Linked DNA regions of Homo sapiens: region 2 is linked to region 1. Evidence: promoter capture Hi-C in 16 types of primary human blood cells and fetal thymus (Javierre and others, 2016). All regions are on one chromosome and are shown on one strand. Each heading gives the region's core, a stretch centred on a gene start or on the middle of the fragment in contact. The rest is flanking DNA. Distances are from core to core; before and after follow the strand shown.

Region 1 (4,596 bases), core at 1,935-4,434:
AGCAAGGCCAGCGAGCGCGGCTTGCGACGCGCCCGGGTCGAGGTGGTCCCCGCAGTCCCGGGCCGTGCCGGCAGGCGCCGCGCGTTGGCGCGTACCTGGCAGTAGATGCGCGCGTAGAGTGCACAGATAGCGGCCAGGATGCCCACGAAGGCGAGCACGCAGAAGAGCACGTAGGCCTTGGCGTAGAGCGGCAAGACAGTGGAGCAAGCGTCCAGGCGACCCAGGCAATTCCAGCCCAGCGCTGGCAGGAGCCCGAGGAGCAGCGACACGCCCCAGGCCGCGGCTGCCATCGCCAGCGTGCGCCCCCGACTGGAGACGGGCGCGGGCCCCCTGCGCGCCATGGTGAGGCTGCGCTCCAGCGCGATGGCCAGGAGGCTCAGCACGGACGCAGTGAGTGCCACGAAGACGCCTCCCTCCCGTGCGAACCAGAGCGCGGGGGACAGTTTCAGCGTGAGCGGCCCCGACAGTAGGATGTTGGCGGCGTAGGCGGCGCCTGCCAGCAGATCCGACAACGTGAGGCTGCCCAGGAGCAGGAACATGGGAGCGTGGAAGCGCGGGTGGCGTCCGAGCACCAACAACACGGCTAGATTCTCTAGCACGATGAAGGCGCACACCGCCAGGCACACCACGGCGTCGGCGCGCAGGCCGGCACCCGGCTGGTAGCGCGCACCGCGGAGCTTGCCGGTGTAGTTGTAATGCAGGACGATGACCTCGCTCACCGGCGCCGGCCGCAGCAGCCCCGACTCCATGGGCCGCGCGCCCCAAGGCTGTTGGAGAGGCAAGATACGGTGTCAGGCCGCGGTCCCCGTAAGCACGCTCGCAGCAGCCGGCTAAGTCGTGGGAAAGGGGCCCTACCCACTGACCATCACCCCCTATACATGGTGTCCAAGGGGGAGTTCAGGATGGAGGGATAGAGTCCGTGGAGACAGACATACACACAAATAATATCACGAGGGAACAAGGTGACATAGTCCCAAAAAAAGGGACATTAATAACACATGAATGGCTGGGCGCGGTGGTTCACACATGGCTGGGCGCGGTGGCTCAGGCCTGTAATCCCCGCCTGTAATCCCCCCAGGCTCAGGCCTGAGGCAGTGGCTCAGGCCTGGGAGGCCAAGGGGGGCAGATCACGAGGTCAGGAGATCGAGACCATCCTGGCTAACACGGTGAACCCCTCCGTCTCTGCTAAAAACACAAAAAATTAGCCAGGCATGGTGGCACGTGCCTGTAGTCCCAGCTACTCCAGAGGCTGAGGCAGAAGAATCATTTGAACCCAGGAGGCGGAGGTTGCAGTGAGCCGAGATCGCATCACTGCACTCCAACCTAGGTGGCAGAGCGAGACTCTGTCTCAAAACACCCCCCCTCCCCACCAAACACACACACGGCTGGGTGTGGTGGCTCACTCCTGTAATTCCAGCACTTTGGGAGGCTGAGGCGGGAGGATTGTTTGAGGCCCAGGAGTTCGAGATTAGCCTGGACAACATAGGAGAACCCCGTTTCTACAAAAATTAGCCGGGACGTGTTGGTGTATGCCTATAGTCCAAGCTACTCAGTGGAGTCCCAGCTGAGGTGAGAGGATCACTTGAGCCCGCGGGGTCAAGGCTGCAGTCAGTGAGCATTGATTGTGCCACTGTACTCCAGCCAGGACAACAGAGCAAGACTTTGTCTCAAACACACACACACAAACACACAAGCAGGGAGTTCCAGAGACGTAACAGTAAACACACAGAACGCACACAAACGCAACACACACAGAAAGAGACACACAAATACAGCGACACACTACAAGGGCAAAACACACAGTCACACACTATCAGGGAAACTAAAAAATACATCATACAGGAACAGAGTGACGCAGGCAGAAAAACACAGCGACCAAAATTCAGTCACACGAATACAGGGTCTCCCACCCAGTGGCACAGGCCACAATTTCACAACCTCCACTCACACTAGCCTGGGGCCCAGTGCACCACACTCCACACTCTTGTCTCACTGCATACAAAGCTTTTTCCTGCCAAAACCCCCTCATCCACCCAAAACCCCATGAGAAAGTTGCTCCTTGGCCAGGCACAGTGGCTTTCGCCTGTAATCCCAGCACTTTGGGAGGCCGAGGTGGGAGTATCACTTGAGCCCAGGAGTTCGACACCAGCTTGGGCAACATACTAAGACTTCATCTCTACAAAAAAATTTAAAAATTAGCCAGGTGTGGTGTTATGCCCCTATAGTCCCAGCTACTCAAGAGACTGAGGCGGGAGGATCACTTGAGCCTGGGAGGCCGAGGCTGCAGTGAGCCATGATCGCACCCCTGCTCTCCAGCCTGGGTGACAAGAGAGAAACTCCGTCTCAAAAAAAAAAAAAAAAAAAAAAGTTGATCCTATTCACTCATTTTACTAAGGCAGAGCCTGAGGACAGGAGAGAGAATCCACAAGAGGCAAACAGACTCTTACAGAGGGGCACACATGTCATTAAACTGTAATAACACTCCTCACCTGCCTCTGTGACCTTATTAATCCCCACTTCCTTTAGTCCTAATTTACAGATGAGAAAACTGAAGCTCAAAAGAAATGCTTCGTATCGAAGCAGGCGCAAAGGTTTCCATGCTCCCACACAAACATCCATGCACAAATAGTCCCCATGCAAGTCCAGATGAGAAAGCCAAGGCCTGGGGAGGGGAATGGATCTCTTTTGCACAAGGCAGGGATGCGGACATCCCAGAGAGCTTCAGTCACACACAGAGAATCAAGGCAGGCAAACATAGACAGGAAGTCGCTGGCTCACCCATGCTGGAGGTGGGGAGCCCAAATACAGGGAGACAGGGTTACACATGCTCTGAGGGGGAGGCCAACCCCATCCGCCCAGCTTGCCCGGCAGCAGGACTGAAGTATGGAAACTTGCAGTGGCCCGGCCAGGAGGGGGTGGCCAGGGGATTCCAGCCACCTTCACCCCGTATCCCAGGTCCTGCACCCAGCTGGGGAGCCCCCAGCTTCCCCCTCCCCAGAGGCCTCCAGGAAAAGTTCGGAGAACTCCCTGCAAGGAGTGGTGCGCCTTTTTAGACCGGGAAAGTGGCCGCCAGGGCGACCCCCTCCGGGTCAGGCCCAGCCCAGCGCCCCCAAAGGTCCAGTGCAGTCCACTCACTCTGCGCCCTGGTCGTGCGCCACCCGCAGTCGCGCTGCCTTGAACCGAGTGAGCGGACGCCGCTCCGGGGGCGGGGCTGGAGCTGGCAGGCGAGGGGGCGGGCCAGCGACGCAAAGGGCCGGCGGTCGCCAGCAGTTGCCCCCTCCCCTTGGGTCCCGGGCACTCAGCCCATGGCTGCCAGCCTGTGCCACTCGCCGCGGCACCGGAGCGCGCCCCGGCGGCGACTGGCACAGGCGAGCCCTCAGCTGCCCCCTCCGGGCCTGGGCTGTCCTCCCAGGGACGCTCCATCGCGGTGGGAGGACTCGGAGAGGCGGGAAAGGGAGGGTTCTGCAGCAGGGCGGTCGCAGCCTGAGCCTCTTCTCCCCAGCGGAGGGGTCTCCTCTGTCCTGGGTGTCCGGGCACTGCGCCCTCCCATTGCCCACCCACCTGTGAACTGAGCTTCCTGGGCTGCACCCCAAGGACGCCCCGTCGATGATTCGGAGGGGTCTTCAGTGGGTTGCTTAGCAGGAGTCTTCAGTGGGGGCCACCTTAGCCTGAGTCCTCTCCCACCAGCAGATAGGTTCCCGCTGCTCCCGGGCACAGGCCCCTCCCAATTTCCCGCTCCCGCCCCCGGCTCAGGGCGAGTGGGGGTGGGGCGGGCCCGGGCAGGATTGTGATGGGAACTTGCCGCTCCTCAGATAAGGAGGGTCTCTCCTGTCCCACCCCCTGGATTCCGTGTTCCCCCGACCGATTCTCTCCCACCCTTATCGCTGACGACAAAGTGATTTACTCATTAATGGTGTTTCTGGGCTGTGTCCTTAGCAGACAGTAAACCCCAGCAATGTAAGAATTTCTTTTTTTTTTTTTTTTTTGAGACAAGATCTTGCTCTGTGGCCCAGAGTGGAGTGCAGTGGCAACATCATAAGTCACTGCAGTCTCGACCTCCGCGGCTCAAGCCATCCTCCCATCTCAGCCGGCTGAACGTAGCTGCTGGGACTCCAGTCGCTTGCAACCATGCCCAGATAATGAATGAGTGTCTCCCTCACTTCCTCTGTATCTCTCTCAGGAGGATCTCAGAGTCTCTCGCCTGCGTGTCTCTTTGTCTCTGCGTGTCTCTTTGCCTCTGCGTGTCTCTTTGTTGCTGTCTGTGATGCTCTCCCACGCCTCTCCCAGGCCACTGCTCCTCCAACGACCAGTCCCGCTGGCCCCGAAACGCCCCCACCCCGACTTCCCAGGAACTTCCAGACGGTCCCAGCTCTTCCACCCTCAGATTCAGGAAGGGAGGCTGGGTCCCGCTGCTGCGACCTTCTCCAGGACCGTGCCCTTTGCCCCTGATGCTTCAGGCCCTGCTGGCCGCGGGTGGGGTGAGGGCGCCCCAGGAGAGATGAGCCAGAGGCTGAGAATAAGTGTGGATCCGGGATACCCTCGTGGGAGGAAACTCAGGGGGCACTCAGGCCGGGTCAGGCCCCCATGTAGCCCCTT
Region 2 (4,438 bases), core at 1,146-3,645, 140 kb before region 1:
CACCCCAGTCCCCATGGTGCCAACGCCCCAGACTCACCAACTTTATGTGCAATGTGGATGCAGACTTCCTCAGCTGTCAGCGATGACTCACTGAAAGTGACCCAGGGCTCCCCGCCGCCTGGACCAGCCCAGTGCAGAAGCACCTTCAGGCCTCCCATGGCAGCCATGGGCTGGGCTCCATCCCCAACGGGCTTACTGCCCCTGGCCATCCCCCAGTGGCGCAGAGGCATGCTCCCGGCAGGTGGCTCAGCTGGAAAGGGGACAATCTGTCAGCTCCCAAGTCTCAGCCCAGAGACCCCTGTTAGCTCTTCAACCTTCCACCCACCCCAGCTAAGGCCTGAGGGGAAGATTCTGGGCTCCCATCTTGGCATGACATTAGAGACCCGATTCCCTCTCTGAGTCTCGTTTTCCACATTTATTGGACAGGGTTGGGGTATGCATCCCCACCTAGATCTCTCATCAACAATAACACTGAACCCTCCTCTCTTTCCACAAATTGACACAGATATAAAAATCTGCTCTGGCCAGGTACAGTGGCTCACGCCTCTAATCCCAGGACTTTGGGATGTTGAGGCAAGAGGATTGCTTGAGCCCAGGAGCTCGAGACCAGCCTAGGCCATATAGCAAGACCCTGTTTCTACAAGACGTTTTATTTTATATCTTATCTTATCTTATCTTATCTTATCTTATCTTATCTTATCTTATTTTTGAGACAGAGTTTCACTCTTGTTGCCCAGGCTGGAGTGCAATGGTACAATCTTGCTCACCACAACCTCTGCCTCCTGGGTTTAAGTGATTCTCCTGCCTCAGCCTCCTGAGTAGCTGGCGCCTGCCACCACACCGGGCTAATTTTTGTATTTTTAGTAGAGACAGGGTTTTGCCATGTTGGCCAGGCTGGTCTTGAACCTCTGACCTCAGGTGATCCACCCGCCTCGGCCTCCCAAAGTGCTGGGATTACAGGCGTGAGCCACTGTGCCCGGCCTCTACAAGAAATTTTTAAAATTTAGCCAGGCGTGGGGGTGCACATCTGTACTCCAAGCTACTCGGGAGGCTGAAGTGGGAGGATCTCCTGAGCCCAGGAGTTGGAGGCTGCAGTGAGCAGTGATCGCACCACTGCATTCCAGCCTGGGTGACAGAGTGAGACCCTGACTCTAAAAATATAAATAAATAAATAAATAAATAAGTAATAAAAATATATAAAAAGGGCCAGGCGCGGTGGCTCATGACTGTAATCCCAGCACTTTGGGAGGCCAAGGCGGACAGATCACGAGGTCTGGAGATTGAGACCATCTTGACCAACATGGTGAAACCCCATCTCTACTAAAATACAATAAATAAATAAATAAATAAATAAATAAATAAATAAAAAGTAAAATAAAAATCTGCTCTTAACACACCTCCCCAAAATAACCAGACAGGCAGATGTGGTCAAACATACCTGAGGGTGAGTCCTGGAGCTCCCTGTGTCAACTCAAGCAAGCCACTTAGCAATTCTGGGCCTCAGTTTCCCCATCTGGAAAAGGGAGGTCCTCAGGGTGTTGCCATCAAAAGATGGTTGTAATGTTTCAATATAGTTCCGCATATTACACATTCAGCACAGACCCTGATTCAGGCACACACAAAAAGAACAAATATGACCAAAACAAGAATAACATAATTGTTATTAGTTTCATCGTGGTGATGGCCTCTTTCAGGCCACAATTCTCCTCTCCCACATTTACCCCCATGAGTGACCTCAGTCCCTGTTGACTCCCCAAAGCCTAGGAGAGTTTATGTCCAGCTCCATCCCCCCAATCCAGGGCCTGAGCCTCCTGAGGGCGCCAGTATGGAAGTGGAGGGGCTGTCACTTCCACCCATGTTGCTGGTTTCCTCATCTGGAAAATGGGCATGTAACAGTGTCTACCTCAAAAGGCTGCTGGGAGGATTTAACGCGAGGAGGCAGAGAAAGTGCCTGGTATACAGTAAGCGCTTAATTAGCCTTTGCCATTAATACCTATTCATGTTATAGATGAGATCCCGGGGATGGGGCTTTCGCGGAGCCTACTTCCTCCTTCCTCCTTTCTCGTCCCCACTGGACCCAGACCCAGCTTTGAAGACAGGGTCGGAGTGAAGTTTGCAACTGGGAAGGCTGCACGCCCCCATGTCCTCCCCCCAAAACCTCTAAACCCGGCCGGCAACGGCGGGAACTGGGATGTGCACCCACCGGGCATCGGAGCAGTCCCGAGGCACCAGGTGCTCCCATCCAAGTGCAGCCTGTCAAGCGCAGCCAGTCCCCGCGGCTTCTTCCTGAGGACCTCCGGCCGCGCTCCTTCCGCGCCCGCGTCCAGACTCACCCTTCCGGGGGAACACAAGCTCGAACCCGGACCCCTCCCCGCTCCCGCGGGTAGCTACTGCTTGTCCCCCGCCGAGACGCCTCCTCCCATTGGCCGCCTGAAACGCACACGCCCATTGGCAGCTGCTCTGTTCTCCCTGCTCGTCACCATTGGATTTTTTTTTTTTTGCCATGGTGGCGGCACTCTCATTGGTCCTGGGGCTCATTCGTCACTCAGCCGCGATTGGCTGAGTCGGCACCCAGATGCGCTGTCGCTTCTGCTATTGGCTGGCACTCGGTGGACGGAGACGGGGGAGGGGCTTGCGAGAGGCGGGAGGGAGAGCGAAGTGTGTGGGCAACGCGGCCGGATCCTGGAGTTCCCCTCCGTGCTGTGGAATTGGGTCAGGCGTGTACGGTCCTGACCCTAGGACACAGCTGCATGTCCTCACCTCGGTGTTCAAAGCTGCACCGGCCACCATTCAACCCTCCGACGCCCTGCCCTTTGGCTTCCCCGTTCCATCCGGTCCTGTCTCCTTTCCCTCGTTTCTACCTGGCCGACTCCATCCTGCTGACTAGAATTCCCCCTCCTTCACTCCTGGGAGGCATTCCTCGCCCACCTGCCCCAGTCCTCTTCCTGATCACCTGCAGCCCTGTCCTCTGAAGCTCCCTAGCGGTCAGGGTAGCAGCTTGGACATCCCGCCAGACGTGAATTCAAATCCCCACTCCGCAAGTCGTGCCCATTTGCTGAGAAGCCTACAGCCAGAGCGTTTCACATACATTATCTCATTTGATCCTAGCAGCAATTCCCTGTATGGCGGCTCTTATTATCCCCATTTCACAGAGGAAGAAACTCAGGCATGAAGAGGTAACAAAGACCGTCCTCTGACCCTTCTTCTGTGCCACACCATAACCACTCCTCGACTTTGTCTTTCACCTGCCCAGCCAAGTCTTAGCAAAGAAGCCTATTAAGTCATCCGCTCATCCTTGATGTCTGATCAACTTCCTCATCTTCCACTTTTTTTTTTTTTTTTTTTTAAGATGGAGTTTCGCTCTTGTCGCCCAGGCTGGAGTGCAATGCTGCGATCTCGGCTCACTGCAACCTCAGACTCCCGGATTCAAGCGATTCTCCTGCCTCAGCCTCCTGGGTAGCTGGGACAACAGGCGCCCGCCACCACGCCCGGCTAATTTTTGTATTTTTAGTAGAGATGGGATTTCACCATCTTGGCCAGGCTGGTCTCGAACTCCTGACCTCGTGATCCACCCTCCCAAAGCGCTGGGATTACAGGCGTGAGCCACCGCACCCGGCCCTTTTGTTGTTAATTTTTAAATTTTGTGGCTAATTTTTAAATTTTTGTAGAGATGGGGTCTGGCTATGTTGCCCAGGCTGGTCTTGAACTTCTGGCCTCAAGCAATCATCCTGCCTTGGCTTTCCAAAGTGCTGGGATTACAGATGTGAGCTAAGACACCCAGCTCCATGGAGTTGGTCTTAACTGCCATGGCCAAGGGACATGTGGCTGCTTCTCTCTGAGTCAGAAAATATGGGTAAAAAGCCTCCTCACAGGGCAGCTGTGGACATTCAGTATGAAAATGCTGAAAGAGATCGGGAATGGTCTCTTTCACACCTGTAATCCCAGCACTTTGGGAGGTGGAGGCGGGCGGATCACCTGAGGTCAGGAGTTCAAGACCAGACTGGCCAACATGGTGAAACCCTGTCTCTACTAAAAATGCAAAAATTAGCTGGGCATGGTGGTGGGCACCTGTAATCCCAGCTATTCAGGAGGCTGAGGCAGGAGAATCGCTTGAACTTGGGAGGCAGAAGTTGCAGTGAGCCGAGATCACACCATTGCCCTTCAGCCTGGGCAACAAGAGCTAAACTCTGTCTCAAAAAAAAAAAAAGAAAAAGAAAAAGAAAGAAAATGCTGATAGAGGCCGGGCACAGTGGCTCACGCCTGTAATCCCAGCACTTTGGGAGGCCGAGGTGGGCGGATCATGAGGTCAGGAAATCGAGACCATCCTGGCTAAGGCGGTGAAACCCCGTCTCTACTAAAAATACAAACAATTAGCTGGGCGTAGTGGCAGCCTGAGGCAGGAGAATGGCGTGAACCGGGGAGGCGGAGCTTGCAGTGA

Evidence for each region. The method cuts DNA at HindIII sites, captures the fragments that hold promoters and counts their contacts. A CHiCAGO score of 5 or more calls a contact.
Region 2: a contact is called between the fragment with the promoter of TYK2 here and the fragment with the promoter of S1PR5 in region 1, in 5 of 17 cell types (non-activated CD4 T cells, naive CD8 T cells, fetal thymus and 2 more). The highest score is 8.5, in non-activated CD4 T cells.

Annotation. Positions count from the first base shown.
Region 1 is chr19:10,514,263-10,518,858 of GRCh38, forward strand. It overlaps S1PR5 (sphingosine-1-phosphate receptor 5), which reads right to left and starts at 3,185. Exons shown (of 2, transcript NM_030760.5): 1 at 3,136-3,185; 2 at 1-767. The coding sequence starts at 749. RefSeq lists enhancers at 475-1,068, 1,069-1,662, 4,530-4,596. The HindIII fragment of the contact is 9,669 bases long and covers 2,003-4,596 here.
Region 2 is chr19:10,378,177-10,382,614 of GRCh38, forward strand. TYK2 (tyrosine kinase 2) reads right to left here and starts at 2,396. Exons shown (of 25, transcript NM_003331.5): 1 at 2,204-2,396; 2 at 1,439-1,603; 3 at 38-250. The coding sequence starts at 230. RefSeq lists enhancers at 2,294-2,453, 2,362-3,025. The HindIII fragment of the contact is 15,548 bases long and covers 1-4,438 here.